3 separate regions of the Homo sapiens genome follow, and all the other regions are linked to region 2. The links are contacts of gene promoters, found by promoter capture Hi-C in blood cells and fetal thymus (Javierre and others, 2016). All regions are on one chromosome and are shown on one strand. Each heading gives the region's core, a stretch centred on a gene start or on the middle of the fragment in contact. The rest is flanking DNA. Distances are from core to core; before and after follow the strand shown.

Region 1 (4,445 bases), core at 29-2,528, 6.2 Mb before region 2:
TGCCTGTGGCTCAGTGCAAGCCAGAGCAGCTGGCCTTAGGACCTGACTTCCAACACAACACACGGAGCAACTGACTGACTCTCCTGGGAAAATAAGGAGCAGAAAAAAAAAAATTATGTGTTCACTGTGCAAATTAAGATGCTACATAAAGATGTAAACAAAAAAGAATAAAATTACTCTGTAATCTTACCAGCCATCAATAACCACAGTTGAAATTAATAATTTAGAGTATATAGTTCGGATTTTTTTTCATCCATAACAAAATGGCACATATTTAGGAGATATAAGAATTTATTATAAAGTAGGATCATTGTAAACATTCCATATTGCACCCTGATTATTTTTTTCCATGAATTTACCCGGAACATTTATTTTCCTATGAGCTGAGACATGTTTACAATATTTTAGAAGCAGCGGGCAGGACACACCAATTTGTCTGGCTTGGTTCAGACTAAATAGGCTGCATCTAATGTAATGCTGTGTAACGGTTACAATGATGATGTAGGGGTACTCCAGTAGCATTGCTTAGGCCTCTGGGCAGCTATAGGGTTCAAAGCCTTCCTTCCCTGCTGGGGCTCCCTTTGGCCAGAACCCAACCCCCCTCCCCCCTCCCCCACCACGAAGTATCTATCCCCAGAGAACTTCCACCTTCTCCAACCATTAGCAGTTAGGAAGGGGTGAAGAGGTTAGGAAAAGGTTTTGGAGGTGCACAGCAGAAGCCCTCAGTCTCTCTGGGTAACACACTCCTGCCTAAGTTTCCAACCAGGGATCTCCTGCACCTCCAAACTCCCCAGATCCCAGGCCTGGTAAGCTGTCTCCACTAACCAGAGAGACTCGGCCATAAGACCCACTGATCAGCCCCAAACCATAAATCCATTCCGCCACATGGACGCCCCTCTTCCCCTCTAGGCAGGGACCTCTGCCCCCCGCCCCCCACGCCCCGCATTTCGGGGCGAGCCTCACCCAGCCTCAAGGTAAGCGGGCGCCACGCCCCACTCCCACCCCTACGATCTCCACTTGGATTCACCCTTCCCATTGGCCCACTTCCTCCTCCAGGCTGGCATTGGTCTCGTCCGCCTCCGCCGCCTTCCTGCCAGTCTACCACTTTCTCACCCAGGGAGGCCTAGAACGCGAGCCACATTCGCCCCCGGCCCTGACCCCAGGCGCGACTGCAGAGCCTCCCGAGCGGGACCGGTCTTCCGAGTGGACGGTTAGGCCACGGGTATTCAAGCGCTGCGAGTTCGCCAGCCTTATTGTAGCGGCCAGGCCTGAAGGGCTAGGCCACCGCTGAACTACATTTCCCAGCAGGCAACGCGGCCGCAGTTTCGCTTCCAAAAGTAAGAATGATGAGACGAGAACGCGAGCGGGGCTGCAGTGTCTTCTGGGATTTGTAGTTCGGGCCGGGAGCCTGGCGAGAAACGGGAGCTGCAACGTCATGGGCGGGGCGAAAGTGGTGCACCCTGGAAGTTGTAGTTCTCCAGAGGTTTAGCCAAACACTAGGTCCTGAAAGCCTAGGACGTTGAGGTTTCCAAACCCGGAGTCGGCTGTCTCCAGAGGACATCCCAGACAGCCATACTAACTTGGCAGCTCTTAATAAAAAGTATCTCCCCGGGGCATCCATTCCTGGTATTGCTATACTTGCCATTTAAGCCCCACCCGCTGCGCCCGGCTGCCATCATCGTCATCATTGTAGTCATCAGTCATTGTGTTTAGCATAAATATGAGTTACCTCATTTAACCGCACTACAACCTATGGAACACATTCTTGTCCCCCTTTTACAGAGGGGGAAACTAAGACAGCTATTTGATAATATTTCTCAAGGCTTTATTAAGCTAGCTTGTGATTCTGATTCCATAGCCCCTCCTCTTGAGAGAAGATTAGTCATGAGACTTAAAGAGTCACTTTACCCCATCCTGAGCACCAACATCCTGAGCCATCCTGAGCACCATTGGTGATAAATATAACATTTCTCTATCAGTGTGCATATGAATGTTGCTATTGTTCTATTTTCAAACATGGCTCATTTAAAAACAAACAAGTCTACTAAAGGATTTGAAAAAATGGACCAGACATGCTAAGAAAAAGGAAGCACAGCAATGTGTGTAGTTTGATTTTTTTTTTTTTCATCCTTACCTGTACATGTATGTAAACTCATAAAGGTCTGGGAAGGAAACTTAAAAAGTCACCAAACTGTTCAGGAGCAGAGTGGCATGAAATACACTTTTCAGCTTTTTAATCTCTATTTTTCAGAATGATTTGAATTTTCTAAAATAATAATGTAGAATTTGTGTGACTTTTGAAACAATAAATAATCTCCCTTCTTCCTTCCTTCCTTTTTTTTTTTTTTTTTTTTTTTTTTTTTTTTTTTGAGACAGAGTCTCACTCTGTTGCCTAGACTGAGTGTGGTGGTGTAATCTTGGCTCACTTCAGCCTCTGACTCCTGGGTTCAAATGATTCTCCTGCCTCAGCCTCCCAAATAGCTGGGATTATGGGTGCATGCCGCCATGCCTGGCTGATTTTAGTAATTTTAGTAGAGACAGAGTTTTACCATGTTGGCCAGGCTGGTCTCAAACTCCTGACCTCAAGTGATCCACCTGCCTCAGCCTCCCAAAGTGCTGGGATTACAGGTGTGAGCCACTGCGCCCAGCCCATTTGTCTTAAATGACAAAGACATTGCCTGTCTTAGGGGATCTGTGTGAGGTTTAGTAGTAGAAAGTATTCAAATCTCAGCTCTACCCCTTTTATTGACCTGACATACCCAGTGATTGTGCCTCCATTTTCTCATCTGTAAAGTAAATGTAGAAAACAATACCACCTTGGTAAATCTTGTTATTAGAATCAAAGCAAGGTATTATGAGGGGAAGTGCTTAGTGAACTGTGAAATCCCAGAACAGGTAAGAGAGGGATGTTGTTATTATTTGAGGTAAATCTCTTATATCGTCCGTTTCTCTATACCTAGCGCTCATTTCCTACTGTATAGTGTGAACAGAAACTAGTTAATGAACACCTGTCCCTGCCCTTCCTGTCTCCCAACAGTCAGTTAATTTACTAAGAAAGCTGGGTGCCGTGCACTTGACTCATGTCTGTCACCGATTCATATGACCATCACTTCGCTTTCCTGGGCCTCAGTCGTCTCACCTGTAAAATGATACCCTGCTTTGACATATGCTAAGAGGGCCTGTGGACCAGTGGATCCTCATGTTAGATACTAGAATTCTTATAGATTCACAGATCTTACCCCAGAAATTCCAATTCAGTAAGTCTGGAATTGAGTTAGAAGATGTGATTACCTTTCTAGCTCTAACATTCTAAAATTCTAAGAATAGGAAATTAAAATATGCCTTTGAGGCCGGGTGTGGTGGCTCATGTCTATAATCCCAGCACTTTGGGAGGCCAAAGCAGGCAGATCACCTGAGGTCAGGAGTTCGAGACTAGCCTAGCCAATATGGTGAAACCTCATCTCTACAAAACCCCATCTAATACAAAAAGTAGCTGGGCGTGGTGGTGCATGCCTGTAATTCCAGCTACTCAGGAAGCTGAGGCAGGAGAATCGCTTGAACCCTGGAGGCGGAGGTTGCAGTGAGCTGAGATCATGCCATTGCACTTCAGCCTGGGCAACAAGAGTGAAACTCCATCTCAACAACAAAAAAAAATGCATTTGGGGGGAATAATCATCTTCAGAAAGTAAACTAATTAGACCCCACTCAATAGTTGCATCTTTGCTTTGTCAGTAGCATCGTTTACTGAGGTCTTACTGTATGCAAGGCTTTTTAAAAAACTGTATTTCACCAGTTCTTAAGGTAGATTATAATGAAACTTCATTTAGTAAAAAAAGTTTAAAGGCCTGGAAGAAAACACAGGAAACAAGGAGTGAAAGGAGAGGAGAAGACAGCTGTAGCGGTCAAGCTGCAATTTGACTTTGAGCTTCCTAGCAGATAAGCAAAAATGTCCAGAAGTCATATAAGACCTTCAACCAAACACAGCACAGCTGAAGCTCCCAAACACTGGTCACCTGAGCAGTGCCAAAATGGTTCAGAGCATCACCTGGTTGCCTCAGAAACAAGCAAACAAAAGGATAATGTAATGAATATGTTGTAAAACTAAATTTTTACAATTAATTATAAAATCCTGAGAGTCTATTTAATAGGTTTTAAAGTTTAACTGGTTTTTCTTTAGTAAAGTGATGATTATTATAAATACCTTTATTGGGCAAAATAAAAATTTGTTTTTTCTTCCAAAACTTAATCCAATAATGTTTAGTCAGTGAAATCCAAAAAGCTGGCAGACACCACCATAAGGGAATCCAAAGATGAGTAAGGTCCAGTTTTTCTCCCTCCAAAAGGTTACAGTATTTGGAGAACAGAAGACAAATAACTAGAACAGCCAGATTTAACAAATGTCTCAAATATTTGTCCCAAATATTGTGTGGGACATACTTACACTA
Region 2 (4,672 bases), core at 1,146-3,645:
ATTTTATATCAAACCTGTATTATTTTGTTAATCATCTCCCCACATTCCTATTAAACCGAATATAAAATAGGGAAAATGTACATGTATGATAGCTTGATAGATTGAAATATTTATTTAAGGTCTGTAACATTTAGCAGGCGGCAGGGCTGACTAGAAGATAAAAGAATTAATCTGGAGCGGCCGGGTGTTGTGGCTCACGCCTGTAATCCCAGCATTTTGGGAGGCCGAGGCGGGCAGATCACCAGGTCAGGAGATCTAGACCATCCTGGCTAACATAGTGAAACTCCGTCTCTACTAAAAATACAAAAAAAAAAAAAAAAAATTAGCCGGTCTTGGTGGCGGGCGCCTGTAGTCCCAGCTACTCGGGAGGCTGAGGCAGGAGAATGGCATGAACCCGGGAGGCGGAGCTTGCAGTGAGGCGAGATCGCACCACTGCACTCCAGCCTGGGAGACAGTGTGAGACTCCGTCTCAAAAAAAAAAAAAAAATTAATCTAGAGTATTGGAAACAGCCTACCTCCCACGGCTATGTGATGAACAAATTACATAATATATGTAGAAATGCTGTATGAATCACTATTTGTGTAGTTACAAAGCTTAATCCCTTTGTCATCCTCTATAAACTCCATGAGGACAGGGAATTTGTTTACTAATATATCTTCATTAGCCATCACAAAACATGTGTTCAATAAACATTTGGCAAATATATAAATATTTTGTTTGGTAGCAAAAAATTATTTCACAGGAGAAAACTACCATTAAATGATTTGATGTCTCTACAGTTCCTTCAGGTTAAAATCTGAATTCCTGTCATTCAAGATTTACTCAATCTAGTTGACAATGTACTTTTCTGCCCCCCAAATATTCACACAACATCTCCTCAAACCACCCAAGGACACTATCTCCTGAACTATTGATGCCTTCCTCCTCTCTCTTAAGTCTTTTAAACGTCCAACTCAAATCCAGAATCTTCCTTTGATCTATCTTAACACATGCTTATTAGATGTCTCAAACTGCTAATTAAAAAAACAAAACTTTAAAAAATACTTTATTCATTTTTGCATTTCTGTCCCCAGGGACTAGGACAGTCCTTTGAATATGGTAAATATCCAATAAATACTTACTGATTTAATTATTTTTCACAACACATCATTAGCTTACAATTTTTATTACAATGAAAGTAAATCAATTTCCTAAAATTCTTCCCTTGCCCCATATCGAGGTGCAATTATTCAGTAATTAAAAAAATATAGCTCCAATAAATGCAGCTGGTCATAAAAATTATTTCAGTAATATCACAATCTACTAGAAGAACCAGGAACGAGTAGCTAATTTTCCAATTCCAGTTATCTATGTTACGGATTACGCTTTGTTATGACTGCAATTCCTTGGATTTCTCCCCTCTTCCGCCCCCGGGATCTTATCCAATTGATAAGGTTAAAATAATGGCTATTATCCTTCTGGCTTAAAAAGCCTAGTGCTCTTCGTTCCTTAAATCATTTCATGTGTAAATTCGGTGCTTAGGAAAGACTGTGATACAACATCTAAGAAGCTACATTTAGAGTTCAGTTTTAAAAAAATCGAGTTCTTGGCTGGGGAAGTGCCCAGGTGCAGGTTTGTTTTGTGGTGAGCGGTTCGCGGGGCCAGGTGCAAGACGCTCAGAAGTGTTTTTGGGTGTCGCTGGCCAACTATCTCCACATAAACTCCGTTTGTTTATTTGACAGCGTTACTGCAGAGGGGAGTTAGGTCCAGCGCCACTCAAACCAGATTTGTAGAGACTTAAAACTGCTTTGTCTGTTTTTTTTTTTTTAATCATAAAACCACCCAGTTGGATCCAAGGCAAATTTGTCACCTACTTCAGGGCCCCTCTGAGGGTCAGAAAGAATTATGAGCGCATTTGAACGCACGGCCCAAATAAAAGCAAACGCACGGAGACTTGCGGACTTGACAATTGTGAGAAATCTCTTAAAACTCGCCTGTGGAGCGGCGGGCGAAAGCCGCGGACGCCAGCAGTAGTCGAGGCCCCGGCGCGGACGGCAGGGAATGAAGTCGCCTGACTTTTCCTCAGGGTTTTGTTTTTCTGTCACGGAGGTACAAAAATAGCAAAGCAGGGGTGGGAAGTCTCCTGGCCGTGTTTTTTTTTTTCCCCCTCGCCAGGGATGGCACTGGGAAAGAGAAGGGAGGAAGCAGGAGCTGCACGGAACCCGTCCCGAGGGAGCCGAGGTAAACCCTGCACCAGAGTTAAGGGAGTCGTGCTCCTGCCACTTCCAGAACACTCCGAGCCGCTTCTGCAGGCCCCGCCCCCTGCCGGGGTTTCCCCGCCACCCGCTTCATTTGCATGGCGCTGCCCCTCCCCCGTTGCCATTGGCTAGCGCCGGGCCCCGCCCACTGCTCCCAGACCGCGGCAGGGTTCCGTCCCCCCGAGCCGCACGGAGCTGCGGGCAGCGGGCGGACTGTTAAACCGCGGCGGCGGCGGCGGCGGCGGCGGCGGCGGCGGCGGCGGCGGCGGCCGGGGCGGGAGCGGGGCGCGCTCTGGAGACGAGTCAGCGGCGCCCCGGGTGGGGGAGGCGGGCGGGCAGCTAGAGATCACCTCAGCAGCCCCCACCACGGCCGGACCGAAGGTGCGGCGGCGGAGGGGAGCCAGGGCGCCCCAGCAGGCGAGTGGCCGGCGTCTCAGCGGCGGGATGACGGGGGTGGGTCTTCCCTCTTGGGGACGGCGGCAGCGCGGGGAGGGGAGAAGACTGCCGGGTGGACTTGCGGGTCAGGCGACCGACCGGCAGCCCCTTCGCCCCCCGAATCCTCTGGGCTGCTGGACTCTGGTCTCGGCACGGGATCGCGCTCTAGGGCGGGGGTCTGACCGCAGCCAAATTTAAACGGCTAAACCTAACAGCCTTGGCAGCTGGGGAGGGAAGGGGTCTAGGGAGGGGTGGGGGCGGACCTGGACGCCGGTCACGTGGGGGGTGGGGCTTGGCAGACCTCCCTTTTGTTTTGGCTGGCGCGTGCGCAGAAGGCAGAACACGTGGTTTCCTGGACCCGCCTCTTGCCTCATCGGCTGAGCCTCACCCATTGGGGGTGTGGTGACGGCTCTTTTGAGGCGGCTCTGAGGCGGAGCCCACTGGATTTGATGAGACCCCTATTTTATTTATTTCACACTTTCTTTCAGGAAAACGTAGATTTGGGCTTTAGAGTTAGATGGGATAGAGCAGAATCTAGGGGATTTTTGAGGGACGGTGCTTCCAAGTTTGTGTCACCGGTGTGCTGAGGAAGGGACCGGTCTTGCTGGAAAAAGTCAGATTGCGTGGTGTTTGGTAGCAAGAAATACCAGGCGGTATCCTGGCCGTTTCAGAAACCACAGGAAAGGAAAGAGGCTGGCTTTGCAGTCGGGAGGGCAGGCACTGGATGGACGTTCTTGTAATGTTTTCTTACTCTGGGAGAGTCCGTTTTTGTTTGTTTTTTTGTTTGAACTGTGGTAAGCACATTCCGTTTTTGATTCCCCAAACTTCAGGACATTCATGTTCTGGCGAGGTTTAGGAGACAAACTTCCTTCGTCTTTAGCCAGTTTGCTTAACTTCATCTGAGTTTGGGTCAGTAATAATTTTAAATATTGCTGGATGGGGCAGGTTTGTTAGCCACAAAACCTAAGTGAAGTGAGCACTGCAGACAAAACTGGCAATTTCTGACTAGGAAAAAATGACTCTAAAAATAATTCAGTATTGAGAAAGAGGCTTAACAGTGAGTGGTCTCTGCCTTTCCCGTTCTTAATAACTAGCCATTTCTTTGGGTTAGTCACCTCTCTGATGTCAAACTTGTTTCGTTTTTGTAAAGTTTCATAATATGGTCTCTGTCTTAAGAGATTGTAAGAAAGAAGAAATGCCTTGTATTAGGAAAAGTGATTCCTAATCTCTACCAATTGCCAAGTAGTGTTATTTTTATAACAAAAGTGAATTTTTTAAAAGCCCACATGTTGGGGAAATATAAACAATGAATTAATCATGAAATAGAATATATTTGAGTATCTTTAAAATCTGTTGTAACCATTATCTTTGGTTCTCCCTCAGTTTCCACCTACTTAGATCAGTGTCAGCGTCTGCAACCATTTCCTCATGGTTTTAATCTACATAGATTATTCTCTCCCGCAAACTGTCTGGAGTAATTTTTTATGTGAAACTTCTTAATCCAGGCCAATTCTCTCACATTGACTTTTAACATTTACATTTTAATTTTGTTTCATGATGCGCCTTTGCAAATAACAATCGATTATTTTGTTAAATCTTATTATTATAAAGTAATTGGAAAATAGATGAGTGCAAATAAGAAAACTATAAATATTTTGTACTTTAAATATTTCTGTCTGCATATATGTGTATTTTTCCTAAAACTGAGACCACATGGTATTTTCATTTAACTCAGACATTCGCATATCATTATTCTTTGAAAAATATTTTTAATAGCTGCTTAACATTTCGCCATGTAACTATCATATTTTAAATTTTTTCTGTTGGCACGTATGTGGGATGTTTCTGGTTTTGCTAGTGTATATTTCACTACAGACAATATCCTTTTACATAAACCTTTGAAATTTCCCCCCCTTAGATTTGTAGAAGAGGAATTACTGGGCCAAAGAGTCTGTTTTTGTTGTTTGTTTGTGTGTGTGTTTTTTAAGGCTCTTATGTC
Region 3 (4,196 bases), core at 1,428-3,927, 5.1 Mb before region 2:
TGAGGTCAGGAGTTCGAGATCAGCCTGGCCAACATGGTGAAACTCTGTCTCTACCAAAAATACAAAAAAATTAGCCAGGCGTGGTGGCGGGCGCCTGTAATCCTAGCTACTTGGGAGGCTGAGGCAGGAGAATCGTTTGAACCTGGGAGGCAGAGGTTGCAGTGAGCTGAGACAGTGCCATTGCACTCCAGCCTGAGCAACAAGAGTGAAACTCTATCTCAGAGAAAAAAAAAAAAAATCTTGGCCTCTTAACTAGCTGTGTAATCTCGAGCGAGTTACTTAACTACGTTGTGCTTAATTTCCTCACCTATAAAATGAGGATAACACTACCTAAACTAAAAAGTTGTTATAAGGACTATAAGAGTTTATATATGTAAAATACCACTGCAACTGAATAAAATACCACTGCAACTGAATGTGGCCTTTGTTGAAGAAAAAACAATTGCTCCAAGTTGTTTACATTTCATTCAGTGAACTTTACTGTGCTGGGGTCTAAATAAATCACTCATGGTGAACTTCTTATCCTTTCATAGAAGAGAAACACATTTACATTTCCAGTTTTTAAAGAAGATATGACCATAATGAAGATAAGTGAGGAGTGGGTATAGGTACAGAAACAAGACTAATCAGTTGATAAGTACCTAAAGTGGGTGACAGATATAGGACCCAAGGGATCATTATACTTTTCTACTTTTGATTGTGTCTGAAATGTTTCCATAATACAAAGTTTGGTGGGGAAAAAAAAGAGACTACAGATGAGGATTTTGCTTTACGAAGGTTCCATTACCATAGGAGGACCCAACTTGGCCCAATGGAAAGCACGCAGGTCTGGACTTTGAATTCTCATTCGGTTGCTGATGAGCAAAGAGCCAACTTGCCTGCCACGATTCTCACAGGTTTCCCATGAAAACCACAGAGACAAGACGCAAAAAGACATCCGAAAATATACAGTTATGTATTTGTTAATAAAGTAAGGCATTCTTACCATCTGAACTTGTTAAACTTAGGGAAGCTGTGTACTGCTCACATAGCTGGGAACTGCACAAAGAAAAGGTAATAACCTACCTCTACATGGATCTAGAAACCAAGAAGCAAATTTTCCACATGGCAACAAAAAGCAGACAGATATCCTTCATCTCTTTCATTCTAAAATATGTTTCAGGGGTGGTCATCTCGTTCCTCCCAACTCTCACTGCCGTTTATTAAATAGCTATCCTATAGTTTTTTTCATTTTTCTACCTTTCAGTAGACTTCCTCCCTCTCCTCCCAGAATGCCACTCCTTGACATCAGCAATGGCATCCTGGTTAATCATTTCTAAGTCCCTTCTTTCCATGGCCTAGTCAGCTAATGAAGGGCTTGTGAACGTGGGAATGAATGATTTGCACCTTCATATGGTTACCAGAGATTCTAAGGGAAGGCAGGTAAATTGGAATCTTCATGATGTCGAGTTTTATTAAATCACCAGTCAAAGTAACTGAAGTTTTCCTTGCATAACAAGTGGCCCACCTAAGTTAATCTGTTTAAGGAAGGGGCTAAGACTAGTGTCCTAAAATCAGGAACAGCACGGGTTCCAATCCTACTTTTCCCTTACTCAACTGTTTAAACTTGTGCAGAAGATGCTAAATCTGTCCAGTGTGTTGTCCAGGGTCTTTCTCTGTCACCCAGGATGGAGTGCAGTAGTGCCATCTCGGCTCACCACAACCTCCGCCTCCTAGGTTCAAGCGATTCTCCTGCCTCAGCCTTCCCAGTAGCTGGGATTACAGGCGTGTGCCACCATACCGGCTAATTTTTGTATTTTTAGTAGAGACGGGTTTCACCATGTTGGCCAGGCTGGTCTCGAACTCTTGACCGTAAGTGATCAGCCCACCTCGGCCTCCCAAAGTGCTGGGATTACATGCGTGAGCCACCTAGCCCAGCCGTCCAGGGTCTTAAAAGTTGCTAAATCTCTCTGAGCCTCACTTTTTTTCCCCATAAAGTGGGGAAGTATTACACCAACCTCACAGCGCTACTGGGAGGAGTAAATAAGGCGTTTTGCTGCTGGTGCCTGGAATACAATACTTCCTGGTTAATGTGATCACACTCCTTTCTGATGGAACTAGCTATGCCTTACCTGACTGCCAGACCAGCATCCCTGAGAGCTTTTGCAGTCCCTCCGGAAGCGACCAGATTCAAACCAAGAGCGGTCAGGTTTCTTGCAAATTCCACAAGGCCGGTTTTGTCAGAGACACTAAATAAGGCTGAAAGAGAAGACATTTTTTCTCATGATTCGCAGCACATTGCACTGTGTTCTGCAAGGCCTTGGGAGGGTCTGGGGGAGGAGATTCTCGAATCGCAAGGCCAGCACCTGGACCCTGCGTTCGCAGGCCTGGTCCGGGCCTCCCCAGGTCTTACACCCGCGAGCTGCTCTAAGGCGGGCCCCACGCAGGCTGCGGCCCGGCCGGGGAGCGGGGACGCTGGCTTTCAATCCCGCAGCGCCGCCCCTGCAGTGCCGGGTCCCGCCGGCCGCCGCCAAGGCGGGAGCGTGGGGGGCCGCAGGCGAGGACGCAGACCGCGCCGCTCCGCTAGGGCCTCACCGAGCTGGCCGGGAGCCATGGCTGCAGGCACTGGGTTCAGGGCGAGCGGGAGGCAGCAGCGGCGGCACCACGTGCGCAGGTAGGAGGGCTGCCGGGATGTGGCGGCTCAGGAAGCGAGGGGGCGGAGCTGTTTCCGGGCTTATCACGTGGCCCGCCGGCCCTGCCCGGCGCCCTGCTCTGCTCAGTTTCAGATGCAAGATCCGCGCCCCGGGGCTGAAGGGAACGGCGGGATGGGGTGGGGCTCTGCCTGGCGCGCCTGGGCGGAGTGCTTGGGCTGGAAGGGATCCTGCCTGCGATCCCGAAGTCCAGGCGTGGGAGCCAGCGATCTGCCCACGACCCCAAAGTGAGGCCACTCCACGGCCTCTGGGGCAAATGCCTGTTATTCTAGGCAGCCGGTCCCCAGAAGCTGGAAAGTACGTAAAAGTGCCAGAAGCTCCCATGCTGAAAACTAAACAAAAGGAATAGTTCATATAGCGGCAAAGCTGGAAAGTATCTGGACAGTTATCTACCATCCTCCCTTTTTGTTTGTTGTTTTTTTGTTTTTCTGGGTTTTTTTGTTTTTTTTGTTTTTTTTTTTTTTTTTTGAGATGGAGTTTCGCTTTTGTTGCCCAGGCTGGAGTGCAATGGCGCGATCTCGGCTATGTCACGTGCAACCTGCAACCTCCACATCCCGGGTTCAAGAGTTTATCCTGCCTCAGCCTCCCGAGTAGCTGGAATTATAGGCAGGCGCCACGATGCCCGGCTAATTTTTGTATTTTTAGTAGACATGGGGTTTCGCCATGTTGGCCAAGCTGGTCTCAAACTCCTGACCTCAGGTGATCCGCCTGCCTCGGCTTCCCAAAGTGCTGGGATTACAGGGGTGAGCCACCATGCCCAACTTGTTTTTTGTTTGTTTGCTTGCTTGCTTGTTTGCTTGTTTGTTTTGAGACAGGGTCTCGCTCTGTCTCCCAGACTGGAGAGCAGTGGCACCATCTCAGCTCACTGCAACCTCTGCCTCCCAGGTTCAAGAAATTCTCCTGCCTCTGCCTCCACACCCGTCTAATTTTTTGTTGTTGTTGTACTTTTTTTTTTTTTTTTTTGTATATTTAGTAGAGATGGGGTTTCACGGTGTTGGCCAGGCCGGTCTTCAACTCCTGACCTCAAATGATCTGTCCACCTCAGCCTCCCAAAGTGCTGGGATTACAGGTGTGAGCCACCGTGCCCGGCCCCATCCTCCTTTTTAATAGGCTTAAAAAATAAAACCAAGGACCAATGATTTAAGTGAGGGACTCCAGAGGCCACAGATGACAGTCAAAACGAAGTGAAATTGACATTCGTTGTTGATTTTCACGTCATAAAATTATAATTTAAATATTAATTTATAATACTATTTTATACAATTTAGTCAGTATTGTAAAAGTGCCTAAAAACTACTTAAAGATGGTGTCTTCTTGCAAACCTGTAAATATTCCTGGATGAGAGGAATGATGACAGTCAAAAGAAGGTAAGAGAAGACCTTTCTTAATTCATTAAAAACAGGGAAAGCAAAATTGAACACATTTGTTTCTTTCTAAAAATGACACCTTTGCCACAAAATAAATACATATTGTGGTCTATGAGTCTTTTTTGTGTTATTAGAATTA

Evidence for each region. The method cuts DNA at HindIII sites, captures the fragments that hold promoters and counts their contacts. A CHiCAGO score of 5 or more calls a contact.
Region 1: a contact is called between the fragment with the promoter of SMARCAL1 here and the fragment with the promoter of KANSL1L in region 2, in 1 of 17 cell types (neutrophils). The highest score is 5.2, in neutrophils.
Region 3: a contact is called between the fragment with the promoter of ATIC here and the fragment with the promoter of KANSL1L in region 2, in 1 of 17 cell types (activated CD4 T cells). The highest score is 8.8, in activated CD4 T cells.

Annotation. Positions count from the first base shown.
Region 1 is chr2:216,409,317-216,413,761 of GRCh38, reverse strand. SMARCAL1 (SNF2 related chromatin remodeling annealing helicase 1) reads right to left here and starts at 1,278. Exons shown (of 18, transcript NM_014140.4): 1 at 1,114-1,278. It overlaps SMARCAL1-AS1 (SMARCAL1 antisense RNA 1), which reads left to right and starts at 1,262. Exons shown (of 5, transcript XR_001739881.1): 1 at 1,262-1,337. RefSeq lists enhancers at 1,169-1,258, 1,389-1,478, 1,222-1,516. The HindIII fragment of the contact is 8,553 bases long and covers 1-4,445 here.
Region 2 is chr2:210,169,132-210,173,803 of GRCh38, reverse strand. It overlaps KANSL1L (KAT8 regulatory NSL complex subunit 1 like), which reads left to right and starts at 2,395. Exons shown (of 15, transcript NM_152519.4): 1 at 2,395-2,655. RefSeq lists enhancers at 1,466-2,099, 2,100-2,735, 3,129-3,308, 2,736-3,370 and silencers at 2,179-2,508, 2,629-2,938. The HindIII fragment of the contact is 7,802 bases long and covers 597-4,672 here.
Region 3 is chr2:215,310,540-215,314,735 of GRCh38, reverse strand. It overlaps ATIC (5-aminoimidazole-4-carboxamide ribonucleotide formyltransferase/IMP cyclohydrolase), which reads right to left and starts at 2,677. Exons shown (of 16, transcript NM_004044.7): 1 at 2,575-2,677; 2 at 2,112-2,238. The coding sequence starts at 2,593. LOC124907975 (a long non-coding RNA gene) reads left to right here and starts at 2,764. Exons shown (of 2, transcript XR_007088075.1): 1 at 2,764-4,057. RefSeq lists silencers at 2,333-2,702, 2,713-2,792 and an enhancer at 2,323-2,973. The HindIII fragment of the contact is 8,450 bases long and covers 1-4,196 here.